Linked DNA regions of Homo sapiens: regions 1, 3 and 4 are each linked to region 2. The links are contacts of gene promoters, found by promoter capture Hi-C in blood cells and fetal thymus (Javierre and others, 2016). All regions are on one chromosome and are shown on one strand. Each heading gives the region's core, a stretch centred on a gene start or on the middle of the fragment in contact. The rest is flanking DNA. Distances are from core to core; before and after follow the strand shown. Region 1 overlaps NRXN3 (neurexin 3). Region 2 holds the start of DIO2-AS1 (DIO2 antisense RNA 1). Region 3 overlaps NRXN3 (neurexin 3). Region 4 overlaps NRXN3 (neurexin 3).

Evidence for each region. The method cuts DNA at HindIII sites, captures the fragments that hold promoters and counts their contacts. A CHiCAGO score of 5 or more calls a contact.
Region 1: a contact is called between a fragment that was not itself captured here and the fragment with the promoter of DIO2-AS1 in region 2, in 1 of 17 cell types (endothelial precursors). The highest score is 6.1, in endothelial precursors.
Region 3: a fragment that was not itself captured here is called in contact with the fragment with the promoter of DIO2-AS1 in region 2 in 1 of 17 cell types (endothelial precursors); the score reaches 8.4 in endothelial precursors.
Region 4: a contact is called between a fragment that was not itself captured here and the fragment with the promoter of DIO2-AS1 in region 2, in 1 of 17 cell types (endothelial precursors). The highest score is 7.2, in endothelial precursors.

What each region holds. Positions count from the first base shown.
Region 1 is chr14:79,003,675-79,007,279 of GRCh38, reverse strand. The region is part of intron 15 of NRXN3 (neurexin 3); the gene reads right to left. Among named protein-coding and RNA genes, the nearest start is that of NRXN3-AS1, 70 kb to the left of the region's middle. The HindIII fragment of the contact is 767 bases long and covers 1,129-1,895 here.
Region 2 is chr14:80,209,683-80,212,982 of GRCh38, reverse strand. DIO2-AS1 (DIO2 antisense RNA 1) reads right to left here and starts at 1,564. Exons shown (of 9, transcript NR_038355.1): 1 at 1,495-1,564. It overlaps DIO2 (iodothyronine deiodinase 2), which reads left to right and starts at 1,479. Exons shown (of 2, transcript NM_013989.5): 1 at 1,479-1,732. The coding sequence starts at 1,511. The HindIII fragment of the contact is 6,513 bases long and covers 195-3,300 here.
Region 3 is chr14:78,964,158-78,967,468 of GRCh38, reverse strand. NRXN3 (neurexin 3) reads right to left here. Exons shown (of 21, transcript NM_001330195.2): 12 at 1,063-1,444; 13 at 71-261. Among named protein-coding and RNA genes, the nearest start is that of NRXN3-AS1, 110 kb to the left of the region's middle. The HindIII fragment of the contact is 1,569 bases long and covers 797-2,365 here.
Region 4 is chr14:78,939,129-78,942,448 of GRCh38, reverse strand. All of the region lies in intron 10 of NRXN3 (neurexin 3), which reads right to left. Among named protein-coding and RNA genes, the nearest start is that of NRXN3-AS1, 130 kb to the left of the region's middle. The HindIII fragment of the contact is 1,012 bases long and covers 1,167-2,178 here.

The DNA.
Region 1 (3,605 bases), core at 263-2,762, 1.2 Mb after region 2:
CATGAACAAAAGGGTTAGAATACAGAGCAGGTGTACGTATTGTAGATGCTTGGTTAATTCTCACTCTGAATTTAAACAAAACCACCAAAATATTTGATACACCTGATGTCTTTGCCACATGAACTTCTTTGACACAAATTCTGTAAGTTTACACAATAAAAGTATCCAAAGTTTCTTCTGTTACGTGAGTGTGTTGGGGGGTGGGAGTGGTTATCTACACACTCTAAACATTCAGAACATGTCCTTTTAAAAAAGAAATGCTGCACATATATCAAATTGACGCAGAAAATAACAGTTTTGAATACCTCAAGCATTTCAGTTTAGCAGTAGTGAGTTTGAGCAAGAATCAGAGCCCTGTAGTACTTCATTTAGCTAGAAGTCTGGAGATGGGGCACAGTAGCAGAACTTAGCTGATGGAATTTTATCTACATCAGGGAAAAAATGAACTTGGAATGAACTTGTTCCTAGCCACACACAACCAAGTTTATTAAAATTATAATCAATCAGGGAGACCATAACAGTTCATTCCACTGGAAATCATAGAATAAATATGATATTATATTATTAAGCTATTCTAGCCATTTTTAATGGTCACATTTTTTAATGGATAGAATAATATGTGCTGTCTGGATAATAGAAAAAGAGGCTCTAATATAAGTGGATTATTTTAACTTAAAAACATCTTTAATTGTAAAAACAAAAAAAAAGCTAAGGCTATAAAGGAATAATAATCAAATCTTATAAAGTTAAAAATGGAGTAAATTTCTTAAATGTTTGCCATTTCACCAGTTCTTTGACTACTATACTTTGACTACTATAATTGGCTGTGCCCATGTGTATGTAGCAGCTTATATTCTATTTTTAAAGTTGAGGCTAACCCTAAAATTACCAGTACTGACACTTTAGTTCATGCTTTTGGGGTTTTTGTTTGTTTGTTTGTTTGTTTGTTTTTTGCCATTTACCACACCTATTTTCAAGAGCCTCCTAATAGCTTTCTTGATTTTGCTCATTCTTCCCCAAAATATTCATTGAATCTGCACTATATATCAGACATTGCACTAGGGTCTGTTTATGCAGCCACGTGTTGTCTGCTCTCAGAAAGGCTTACAATCTTCTCTCAACAAAGCTTACTATTTTCTCTCAACCTGCTTCTCACACTCTGCCAGGAGGAATCTTTCTAAGGCATATCTTTGGGCATATCACACACTTGCTCAAAAACTCCCAGTGGCTCATTTCCTGCAAATCCTATGTAGGTTTGATACAGAGACCGGGAATATAAAAATAAACGAGGCATTGTACCTACCCTGTAGAACTCACAGTTGACAATGAGCCAGAAAAATTAACAAATATGTGTAAGATCAGTGCTACAATGATGAAATATTTAGTGAAAGAAAGGAAAGAGAGTAAGAAACCCACTCGTTTTTTTTGAGGACCGACACTGTTCTAAGAAATGTACAAGTAAAATAATCACATAGTCCTGGTTCAAATTAGAAAAAAAAAGTCACACACAGGTAAACATGTATAAACATGTAAACACCACACAAATATTCAGTACAAGGCCCATTGAACATATCTAGATGAACAAGGTAAGGAAGGTAAGCCCAAATCAATAAAGTTTAGGGCACGTTGGGGAAGAGAGTTTTCCCACAGGTGCATGGGTTTATGAAAGTGAGTCCCAGACTTAAATGGAATGTTATGTTTGGAGAAAAGTCCCAAAATGTCTTAATTGCCAGGGAGGTTTGAGATGTTTAAACATAAAAATGCATTTTGACACAAAGAAATATGAAGAAAGACTCTCATCAGATAACTTCTACTGAGTAAGTACTAACTACCAACGTAGAAAATGAGATATTATTGAGTAGAAAAGAAAATGGTCACAATTTAGGGACAAAGCTTAGATGGCCACAAAAAAGAACATACTGAGGGCATTGCTAAGGTAAGAGGATATGGATTTACAGGAAGTAATTGCCAAGTACATGACTTTTTCTAGCTGTAAGGCAGGGGCCAAGAAACCGAGCAAGGGAATGTCTTTGGAATTTGGATAGTGTATCAAGTCATGAGGCAAGAGCTCCTGCGTATTAGTGGGAATACCATTTGTATTCTAGACTAGAAACTCCAACTGCCACATGGAGGCTAGTGAAACATTTGAGATTATTGACACAGAAAGTAGTGTCAGGAGGTTTAAGGTATGGGAGAACTGAAAACTTAGGAAGCAGTACCAGCAATAGAAACTCCCTTTGCTACGTGGCCAGGTATTTGAGGAAATCAGGTTATTAGGAAAAAATACAACATGAAAACTTAAGTCACCAAGGACAATGCAAAGGATGGAGTGAGAAGAAGGCTACAAGGGAAGAACTCAGAGTATTTTTTACATCCTGAAGGTCAATAAATGCTAATGATGAGGACGGGGCGACAGCATATAAAAAATACGTGACCTTAAAAGAAGAAACATCACTGAAGAATGATTGTAGAATCAAGGTCTGACTCCAGGAATTTAAAACATTAGGAAAAAAGCATCCTTCACTAAAGGAGACTTCCAAGAGATGCTCTCTCAATGCAGCATGTCCAGATTTTAGTTAAGGCACAGATGTTGAAGTTGTAAGGGAGTTTGTTCATGTTAGGAAAACATATACCATCAAACAACAGTGTGCCCCACTGTTGGTAATTACTTGTTCATTCCTGGTCGGCTACTTATTTAGCATGAAATATTTGTCATCAGAAATTACAAACACTATTGGCTGGGTGGAGTAGCTCACACCTGTAATCCCAGCACTTTGGGAGGCCAAGGCAGGCACATCACTTGCATCCAAGAGTTTGAGACCTGCCTGGGCAATATGGTGAAACTCATCTCTACCAAAAATGCCAAAGTAGCTGGACATGGTGGCATGTGCCTGTAGTCCCAGCTACTCGGGAGGCTGAGGTGAGAGGATCACTTGAGCCCAGGAGGTGGAGTTTGCAGTGAGCCGAGATCAAGCCACTGCATGATAAAGTGAGATACAGTCTAAAAAAAAAGAAAGAAAGAAATTATCAACACTATTTATATGAACACCATGCAAAGGCTCAGAAGTAAATGAATCACATTTTACTCAAATTAATAAATTAACTATAAAAGAAAAATCATTCCTGTGTGAGGACCCTTGGCAATCAGTTTAAATCTTTATTATCTACATATTCTAACTAAATTCTTAAGATGTGTTTGTTCTCAGAAACACCTAGAGTATGAAAGTGCAAATTCCCTACATAATTATTCTCAGAAGTGCCAGTTTTTAAGATAGCTAAATTTTCTTTTTTGAATTCTTTCTCCACCAACCCCCTTCTGGCATGTCAAGCAATCACACTTATCACATTTCATTTCCTTCAATACTATCAGCTTCACGGGTTTCACAGAGCCCACAGGATTCTGCTCATTGGAACTGATTATCAAAATCGCCATGATTAAGGTTTTGGTCGAATCCCCTAATGTTCGGCAGCTGAGCCCATCATAGAGCACCCCTGAGTAACAGGGAGGGTGTGGAATAACATTATTCCTGAGACCTGGGATGTGGCTTCTTGTTCAGTCAAACTCCACCGGAGAGTGATCTGCAATCATCTCCCCATGGCAGGCA
Region 2 (3,300 bases), core at 315-2,814:
ATTAATAATTTCTCAGCCTTATGGCTTCTTAATGCTATTCAATGGAAAGTTTTAATTTTATCTGCAAAATGAAGCTAAAAGAATGTCGCCTAGCTCCTTCCCTGTCTGGAGGAACTTGGATTTTTTTTTTTTTTTTCATTAGAAGCTTGGGTAAAACTAAAAAGAAACCTGTATTCAAGTTTCTGCAAGAAGCTTTAAAGAAATGCTGGGATGGTACTCAAATAGTTTACAAGTTTTCCACCTACAACTCATTTTGCATTTTCTTAAATAAGATAATGACTCAAAAAAATTTAAAGGACCTAGGTCACAGATCTTACAAAGGGTTGGAGTCATGGTATAAAGGTATAAAGATTGTATATAAATGTTCATATTTTCCAAGAAACAGAGCAAAGACCGCCTGTGATAACTCTTCCTTTTTTCTACCTGCCTTCCAGGATCCTTTCTTTCCAAAACCCCTCATAAATTAATGATAATGATAATCAGAAGAGAGAGTGTTGGCCATATCAATCTGCACATTATATTAAATTACTTTTCCCAAAGTTTGGAAGCATTTCCTGAAGGCTGTCAAGGGTATTAGTTTTTTTCTCTCTTTAAATCACAAAGCAAAATTCCACTGTCTCTCCCCAACCCCTTCTAAAAAAAAAAAGTTGTCGAGTTTTGCTTTTCTATTCACTGCAATCCTGGCCAAAGTAAAGCCCTCTTTCTCAATGACGTCAAGATCTTTACCAAGATTAGGCTTTCACTTCTCTATTGCAGCAATTAGCCAGGGAATGTATAAAAGGCGTCAGGGAGACTCACTGGGCTGCAGAGAGAGGCACTTTGCACCACAGACAGATAGCAAGAAGGGAAAGACAGAGAGTGAGAAAAAAGAGGAGTCAGTCGCTCCTGGGGAAGGGAGAGAGTGAGACTGGGAGAAAGAGAAGCACAGAAAGTGTGTGTAAAACGGAGTAAAGAAAGAAAAAAAAAAAACTACCCTTAAAGCACATTTAAAAAAAAAAAAAACTCTGGCAATTCAAGAAAGAAACAGGCTACGTTTAAAGAGCATAGAGACAATGAAAGGCTAAAGAAAATTTTAAAATCTCTGCCACAGTCTCATAGGTGCTTGGAAATGAAAGTAGAACTGCCTGTCTTTAACGGACTCTGACAGAGGTAACTGGATTAGGGACGAGTACGCCAGCTTTTTTTTTTTTTTTTTTTTTTTTTTTTTAACATCTTAAATCCTGAAAAAAAAAAAAAAAAAAAAAAAAAGGCAGCAGCTCCGAATTGAATGAATTGATGGGCACACTCCAACTGCTGGGCTGGAGAGACTGGACTTAGTCTTGCCATTTCTGCTTCTTTGAAAGAGGAGACAACTTGGGCTTCCTTTTAATTTAGTTTTTTTTCCCCTTCTCCCCCAACCCCCAACCTTCCCCCTTACCTCCCCCACCCCCTTTATCACCACCCCCCTTTTAAATAAGAGGGTGAAGGGGAACCAGAGCGCACAAGGGAACTGACTCAGGAGGCAGAGAAGATGGGCATCCTCAGCGTAGACTTGCTGATCACACTGCAAATTCTGCCAGTTTTTTTCTCCAACTGCCTCTTCCTGGCTCTCTATGACTCGGTCATTCTGCTCAAGCACGTGGTGCTGCTGTTGAGCCGCTCCAAGTCCACTCGCGGAGAGTGGCGGCGCATGCTGACCTCAGAGGGACTGCGCTGCGTCTGGAAGAGCTTCCTCCTCGATGCCTACAAACAGGTGAGCTGAGCTGAGAAGGGCTTCTCCCTAGGTCTACAGGGGCAGGGGCTCATATGCTGGGGACCAGAGGCCATTGGGAGCATTGGGGGGAGAGCTGTGAAGCCCTATTTGTGGGGTTGCCAAGTGAGCCTCTAAGTTTACTTTCCACACCTGTTGCACAGGTTAGCTTGGGAGGGTGACAGCTATTAAGCCATAATGACTCTGTGTGACCTAATAAGGAATCTTTCTACTAAGGGTTATTAATATCTTGCTGTGATTTGGGAGTAGAAGGCATTGTGCTGGTACGATAACTTGGGAAAAGTCAGAAAATGATGGAGAAGAGGAGACTGCTGCATTTATTCTGCTCTTGCCATAAACTGGAATTTTGATTTTTTGCTTGATGGGAGGCTGAGGTACACTGAGGAAGTATGTTCGAGGGGTGGGTACTGAAAAGCAAGAAATGAGAAATGCTACTCAGAACTCTCAGAGAGTTGACAAGATAAGAAAGTGGTCATAGAAATTGTGATTGGGCATCATAGCTGCTTGGTTTCTGGTAGAGGTAAGAGTTAATGAAAGCAAGCAGCTGTGTGCCACCTCCTCTACATTGATTCAAATTTGAACCCTTTGGAAGCGATTTTCAGGCAGTGATCCTGAGTTACTAGATATCAACTTGCGAAAGAAAAGTCTGAAAACTAGCTGTCAGAAATCCAGCATTTGTAAGGGAAGCCTCCTTTACTTTGTTTCTCAAAAATAAAATACGTTGCCCTAGAAAGAGATGATGGGTCTGTGATTCATTAAATCTCAGAGCTGTTATGAGCATTAGAGCAGTGGTCTCCCTTACCTGCTCAGGTAGTGCCCAGGGGCTGCTCTCTCAAAATCAGAGGTAGTGATCTTAGTTTCTAAGTGAAAAATACTGTGTTCCAGGCTTTTTGCTGGTGAGAGATGTTAGTAGAGCATTTTCAACTAAGATCTTCAGGGGCACAGAGGATGATTTTCGCCCTGGTCTTTTGTCAGTTTTCCCCCACCTGCTATGCCCATATGACTTCTAAAGGTCCCCTCCACCCCCTCAACCAGGCTTGAGAAGAATGAACTATTTTGGCAAAAGTAGTTATCAAAATAGACAATCTTGGTTTCCCTAAAAGTGTTGTGGGACCTTGCCCAAGATGCCAGAAAAAGCAACTGTACATCTGTATTTTAGAGGAATATAGAAGCCAGGTGTTCAGTGAAGTGGTGTGTTTTAGGCAGGCAGCACCTTAGAACCAGAGACGGGGAACTCGAAATAATAGAGACGCAAGGGAATGCATCCTCCATAAATAAACACTAGAAAACTAAAACCATGCGCCAAGAAAAGAGAAGAAGTAACTTGTAAAATTACAAAGAATTCAGGACAGGATTGTTCTTCTGAAAATCAGATGTTCAAGAAGAAAATATCTGTTGTGAACTAGGGAAATTTTACCACAATGCACGTCTTTATTATTGATAGTAACCCAAAGAGGGTTTGTGTTTATTGTTGTTAAAAATGTGAATAGTAAGAGCTCTTATTAGTAGATGGAAATTCTTTTATGAGAATATGAATTGGTGCTCAAAGT
Region 3 (3,311 bases), core at 332-2,831, 1.2 Mb after region 2:
TGCCTCTGGAAATAGTCTATCTATTGTAAGAAAAGCTCTATTAAAAACTAAATTTCTTTACAAGGTTTACCTTTCAAATCCAGATTTTTGGCACCATTGATAACCTGAGTGACCACTTTGGTGTCCACTTTCAGGCTATGAGTGTTACTATTGTCCCGAGTGATGACGACATTGTGCCACTGGTTGTCATTCAGGGGGCGGTCACTGTTGCCTTTGATCACATTGGGACCGTTTCCGAGGTCAAAAACGTAGTGTATATACCTAGGAAGAAAAAAAAAAAAAAACAATAATTGGAAAATCCCCGAAGTGGTTTAATGGCTATATGTGTGTAACTGACATAGTGGGCTTCAAATCCCCCATGCTAAACTGGCATAATGCAGGAATAATTTAAATCTTGATATGAGGTTACAAGAATAGTCAGATTTTATTCTATCATGCTTCACTATAATTCCATACTCATCGAGTCCACTTCATTAACACTACCTACTAATACTCTCCAGAGTCAAAGTAGCACAGGTTGTACACTACAAAACATAAGGGGGTGACTTTTAAATTCATCATCAACCATTAATCTGTTTTGGTTTTTGTTTTGGTTTTTTGTTTTGACTATTTTCTAATACATGGTAGTAAAATGTCTTGAGGAAAGGGCAGCTTCTAAAAACTTGCATATATGGGCTAATGGTAGGATTTAAAATATTTATGTTTCATCTTTTGGTATAAATTGGGTGGTTGTAGTTAGTAATACTCAAGAATTAGATGCAATACAAATCATAGCCCTCTTTTGCAAAAATAAGCTTTTCTTCAATAGTTTTAAAGGGCTACATTTCATAGGAAAAAGTCTGTTAGTGTTGAGTTAGTGGAAGACCTTTAAATTAAATCATGAGCCTCTCTCCTTTCCAGACCTAATAATTTTATGGATCCATTTAATCAAGGAAGATGCGAGAATGTGTCAGGAATGGAGGGTAGGGAGTAGAATAGACAAGTTATTTTTATGTCCATATTTTACGTAGAGCTTCAGTAGATTAAAGGTGTCCAACATAAGTCGTGATCCCTTCTACTTACCCCTTGACAAGCTCGACTGCAATGAAGTCATTGCCATCACCACTATTGAAGAGAATGAAGCCATCTGGTGAGGTGGTCTTGAACTGGAAGAAGAGGTGCATGGAGGTGTAAGCCTGAAGAGTGGCAAGGCTCAGGTAGCTGCTCTTGGTCTTAAAGGTGACAGGGTCAGCGATGATGTTCCTCAGTCCAAAACGAGCCTTCAGCTCACAATAATCAATGTCACCATTTTTGCACAAGTCAATGTAGAGAAGGCCATTAAACATGAGGCTCTGCAGATGGCCAATAAAGCTGGAGGGGACAACGGAGATGTAGCGTTTCTCAGTCATGATTCCCGTTTCAATGTTGTGGAACTCCAAACGGGTATGGTCTCCCACCATTGTACCTGTGAAAATTGTAAATGAGGTACAAACAGAAAAGTTACCATCATTTATCACAGCACCCTCAAGTATATTTTTTGGGTGTAACCTGTTTCCACACAGAATATTCAGCTTTCTTGGGTGAGTTCAAGAAAACCAAATATTCAATATGGTAGATACCTTACTTGGCCTCAATCAGGCATTGCCCAAATTACATGCTGTCACGCAGCTGCTCAGCACGGCTCATCATATAAGGGGAAATATGAGGTCATGAGTAACCCAGGCTAAAGGATAAAACTATTGATATTCTCCATTCAGGAGAATCACTGGACACTAATACACACTATAAGAAGAAAGGCCTTTGTTGCTCTGACCCTTGTAAAGACACAACACACAAGTCTTGGGCATCACTACCAAGTATTTTTTCTCGTAATAACTCTCCACTTAGTACTCGTGGGAAGGATTCTATTATAGACTTATCAGTTGAGTTTACCTGCCCAGCAACTGTTACTTTATCTTATAATAACACGTAATTTTTCTTTAGGAAGCTACCCACCCCTCTTGACCTTTCAACCACCTGGACTGGATAAAGTTGACCCTAATCAAGCTACTCAGCCTAGACCACTCAATGTACTTTACCCCCCTAACTGTCACAGACTTTGGACTACAGACTTAAAAAGCGGTCATTACACTTTAGGGTGTATCAGAATCACCTGGGGGGCTTAGGCCCTCAGAGTTTAGAATTCAAAAGTCTGGGGTGAGGCCTGAGAATCTGCATTTCTAACAAGTTTCACAGTGATGCTCTTGTGGCTGATTTAGGGACCACCCTTAGAACTGGCAACAACCCAAGCCATCCCGGCCACACTCAGTTCCAGAGCTCTTGCTGGTACACTTAGGAAAGAGGATTCTTTGCAAGCAAGGACTGCTGGAGGGGTAAGAAGAAAGCTTTGAGTCCCTAGAGGCTATAAGAAAATCAGAGGGATCAGAGGACTAGCAACCCAGAAGACAATTACCAAATGAAGAGAATCATCTGTGCTGTCCTTTGAGACTCTGGATCAAGCCAGGCACCTCCCGGCTTTTTCAAACTGTGTGGCAATAGACTCCCTTTCATGCTTAAAGCGTTTGAGTTGGGTTTCTGACATTCACAACGGAAATATCTTCAGCTGTTACAAATGAACTATTTAGAACTTGTATTACCTATTTTACCTAGAAGTGGTGAGTGACTAGGGCAGAGGGGATAAGGAGGGCTTGAAAAAAAAATACAAAGAGACTGGAAATTTTAATAACAAAATAAAGAAAAACATCATTAATGTGGCCAGAGTAGAAATTGGCTTCCTCAACATTTATATAGAAAAATCATGTTAAAACATAACAAACCATGTTCTACTGCCAAGCATTAGAGGGGGAATTCTTTCTTCCTGTCCTCTCTTGTTACCTTCTACATTGAAAAAACTCCATTAGCAAGACTGATAGCATCTCTTTATTTCCTCTTTAACAACTTTCCTGAAGAAGTGACATAATCAGAAATATTAAGGATGATCTGCAAAGAGAAGCTGTGTATGCTTAGCTCAGCCCCTAACACCTCCTGTTTCTCTTTGCTGGAGCAAGCTGCCTTCAGAAATGTCCATTCTACTGCATGCATCCATAGAATGGGTGTTACAGGAGCAAGCCTTGCTTCCACAAAGGATGTCTGCCCAGTTCTGAACTACTATTCAAGTGGGCAGTTCTGTCTAATTCTGAAGTTCAGTGGGTGTAAGCAATATTATTGTGTGTTATTACTAATTAAAATGATATTTGCCTTCCATCCTCATTGCAATATTTTCTCTATTGGCTCAGAATTACAGTGACAAAAAAAGGGAGGATTGTATTTTCTTAGGTCTCTTAAACTTCAGT
Region 4 (3,320 bases), core at 423-2,922, 1.3 Mb after region 2:
TTCTGTTTTTCCAAATCTTTCATGTCTGACATATGGGCTCCAGATATTCTTCAGCTCTGAAACACTCATTGTGGCTCCCAAAGCTGAAAGTAGAGGCTCAGTGTTAAGACAGGAAGAGTTAAGAGTCAGAGACAGGGCTTCTGAAGGTTATAGGTGAGCCTAGGGTGAATCAAGAACAGGACTTTAGAAGGTTGGTAAGAAGCAGGTTGGTAGAGAGAAAGAAAGTGAAGTACTTGGCAGGTTTGAAGGATGTATGATGAATCCATACTTGAAGGGAAGAACTCTGTGGTCTATATTCTGTTAGGGTAACTCTTCTTATGTTGGCTCCAGAGCCCACACTCTGAGCTACTGTGCCACATTGGCTCCCCATCACACTTTCCATTAAGACGACCTATCATCTCCAATCCAACATTGGTCTACTGTGGCTAGCACACAATCTCACAGTTCTCTCTACTCTCTGGCCTAGAAGCAAGTTTTTTCAGATTTTCCAAGATTCTAAATGGTGCCTCCTCTCTACACCCCTTTTGCTGATGGTGGTGCTTTTTAAATATGAGCACTGAAATAGGGTCCTTGCCACTTCAGGGCTAACTCGACAATCCCAAAGATGGCACAGGGGTGCTAGAGAACAGCTATGGGAGACCAGCGGGGATAATGACGCATAAAGTCATTGTTACACTTTGTACTGGAGCTTAATATTTAATCCCCAGAATACTGGGAAGTAAGCATTTTTATCCCATTTTACAGATGACAGCAGTAAGAAACAGGGATGTTAAGTTATCTCAGCCAAGGGTAAATAGCTACTAAGTAGATGCAAAGCCAAGCTTATCTGGGTTTATATAAAACTGCCTTCTGGATGGATGATGAATGTGTGAGTGATGGGTAGAACTTCAGATCAGACCTCCATAACCAATGGTGCTTCTGAGGGAGCAGATGTGAAGGTTTGCGGAAAACAAAGGGGTAGAGGAACTAGAAATGCTTCTTGGAACTGATACTTAGACTGGGTGAGAATGGGGGTGGCTGGGTGAGGCAGCAGGGGAATTTTGAGAAGCACCACGGGTAAGGAAAGGTGAATCCCTGCCAGCCCTAGATCATGCCACTGGAGGAGGGGACATTTGTATATGGAGGTAGTTGATTATACAGTGAGCTTATATTGACTGGGATAAGCTTGTAATGTCTGTGAGAACTTAATATCCCCCAGTTAGATGCAGCGTAGATCATCCTGGTCTCAATAACCTGACTTTCTACTTCTCATTGATTTTAAGGTGATGCTGGCTATGAACTCCACGAGGCCAGTGATTGTGCCTATTTTTTTCAGAATCTAGTCCAAGGCCTAGACATGGTAGTTACTTGACATGCATTTATATGAATGTATTTAAATGCAGCTTATGGACATTGAAATTCAAAGTGTGAATTGACTGCCATCCCCTAACACAGAAACAGGGAGAAAATGTGGTTATGTGCTTATTACAACTAATTATCCTGCTTGAGGCTACATATGCTCCTACTGAATCATAATCCTAGCTACCATTTATGCAGGGTTGTGAACTGATCCAGCTCTCTTGGGACCAGTGGAAGACAAGTTCTAATTCACAGCTTGATACACATTAGGTGCCCAACAGATCAGCACTACTTGCTGCTATTAATAATTTACAAAAACATATTTAAGTGATTTATAAAAAAATCTAGTAATGGGAGTACACGGTAGTTGGGGGAAAACGTTCAAGGGAAGAAATAAGAGAAAAATATCCCATCTAAACTGAATTTGTAAATGACAATTATAAAAATCATTCTATTCAAGGAACAAATATCTGCCAACTTGTTGTACAATAACATTTATTTGTTATTACTCATTAACTCAACAACTCATCAAATATTTACTGCTTATTTATAACACACTGGACATTGACTAGTGGCTGGAGATAAAAGGAGAAATATATTTTGATCCCTGGATCAAAGTTACTTACAGTCTAATGGAGTAGAGAGTGATATAAAAATGTAATACAATGTTTTAAGTGCTTTAATACTACTATGAGTTCTTTGCATTATACCTAAGGAACACAGGGAAAGAGAGAAGCTATTGGGAGTGTGTGTGTGCATATATACATGCACATTTGGGTCTGAGTTTGGGGTTAAGAAGATAGTGGTGTTCAAGTAATACTTGTTAGAGAAAGCAAAGCTTATGCTTTTTAATGAATGTGCAGAACTAGTGCTCCAGGTAGACAAGAGATTTTAAAAACTGCCACGTATAGAGATTAAGAGAGCATGCAAGTTCAGCAAATGTCGAGTACTTCCGTGTCGTAGGGTAGTGGAGGGCATTTTTATGAGAGGTAGGAAATGAGTCTAAAGATGTAGCCAGGAGGAGATTTTAAGAACCTGCTTACAAGAACCTGCTGTACTGAAAACTTTGTGTTTTATCTCCTAGATCAAAAAGAACTCTTAAAATATCTTAAACAGGCTGCAACGTGTGTTTGCTGCATTATTTAAGATTATTCGATTTTGTCATAGCAAGCAACAAAAAGTTGGATGGAACTTATAGAATGGATTAAAGCGTAGGGAGCAAATTGATAATCTCTGAGAGCTGTGAGACATAGAGAAAATAAAAAGAGCACGTGTGTGCTGAACAAAGATAAAAAGGATGAAATAAGAGAGTTACTTCCCCATAGAAAGGGATGAAAGTACAGAGTAAACCTTAAATATTTATGAAGCTCAGACAATCTCTGTTGACTCCTTCATCCCTAAACTGGTCAACCCATTGGTGACATCCATTTTGGTCCCATTCTGGCCCCACATTTGCTCTGGTTGATACATAGAGATAAAACATATATCTAGTCACCAGGCTAATTGGCAAGTGATAGCTATGGCCAGATATACTTGCCCTTGTGTCTCCCCAGGAGGGCAATGGTGTAACAGGACCAGTGTTTCCCAGCTGTTGTATCCCTTTCTTAATCTCAACTCTGGTTCTTGTAACTACTTCATCAGCAGGGAAGACTAATATGGCAGAGAGGGAACCAAGGTAGATGAACATTGTGTAACCAAGGATTGAGATATGGTAGTCTTTCTATCCCACTTGCACACTCTCCTGTGTTTATTGAACCAATCACTTTCCCCTTGATTTATGCTTAAAGTGTACCTTAAATTGATTTAATAAACAATTTATAATTTCACATCTTAGCTTGGTCTAGGAGGCTTTTTGTTCCATGACCTCTGGGGCAGCCCACTTGAATGTACCTGGAGTGTCAAGGTGATTTTCTACATGCTGCTGGGAATGACAGGGTCAGATTATTGCCTTAGAAAAATCACTCTGGGCCGGGCGCGGTGGC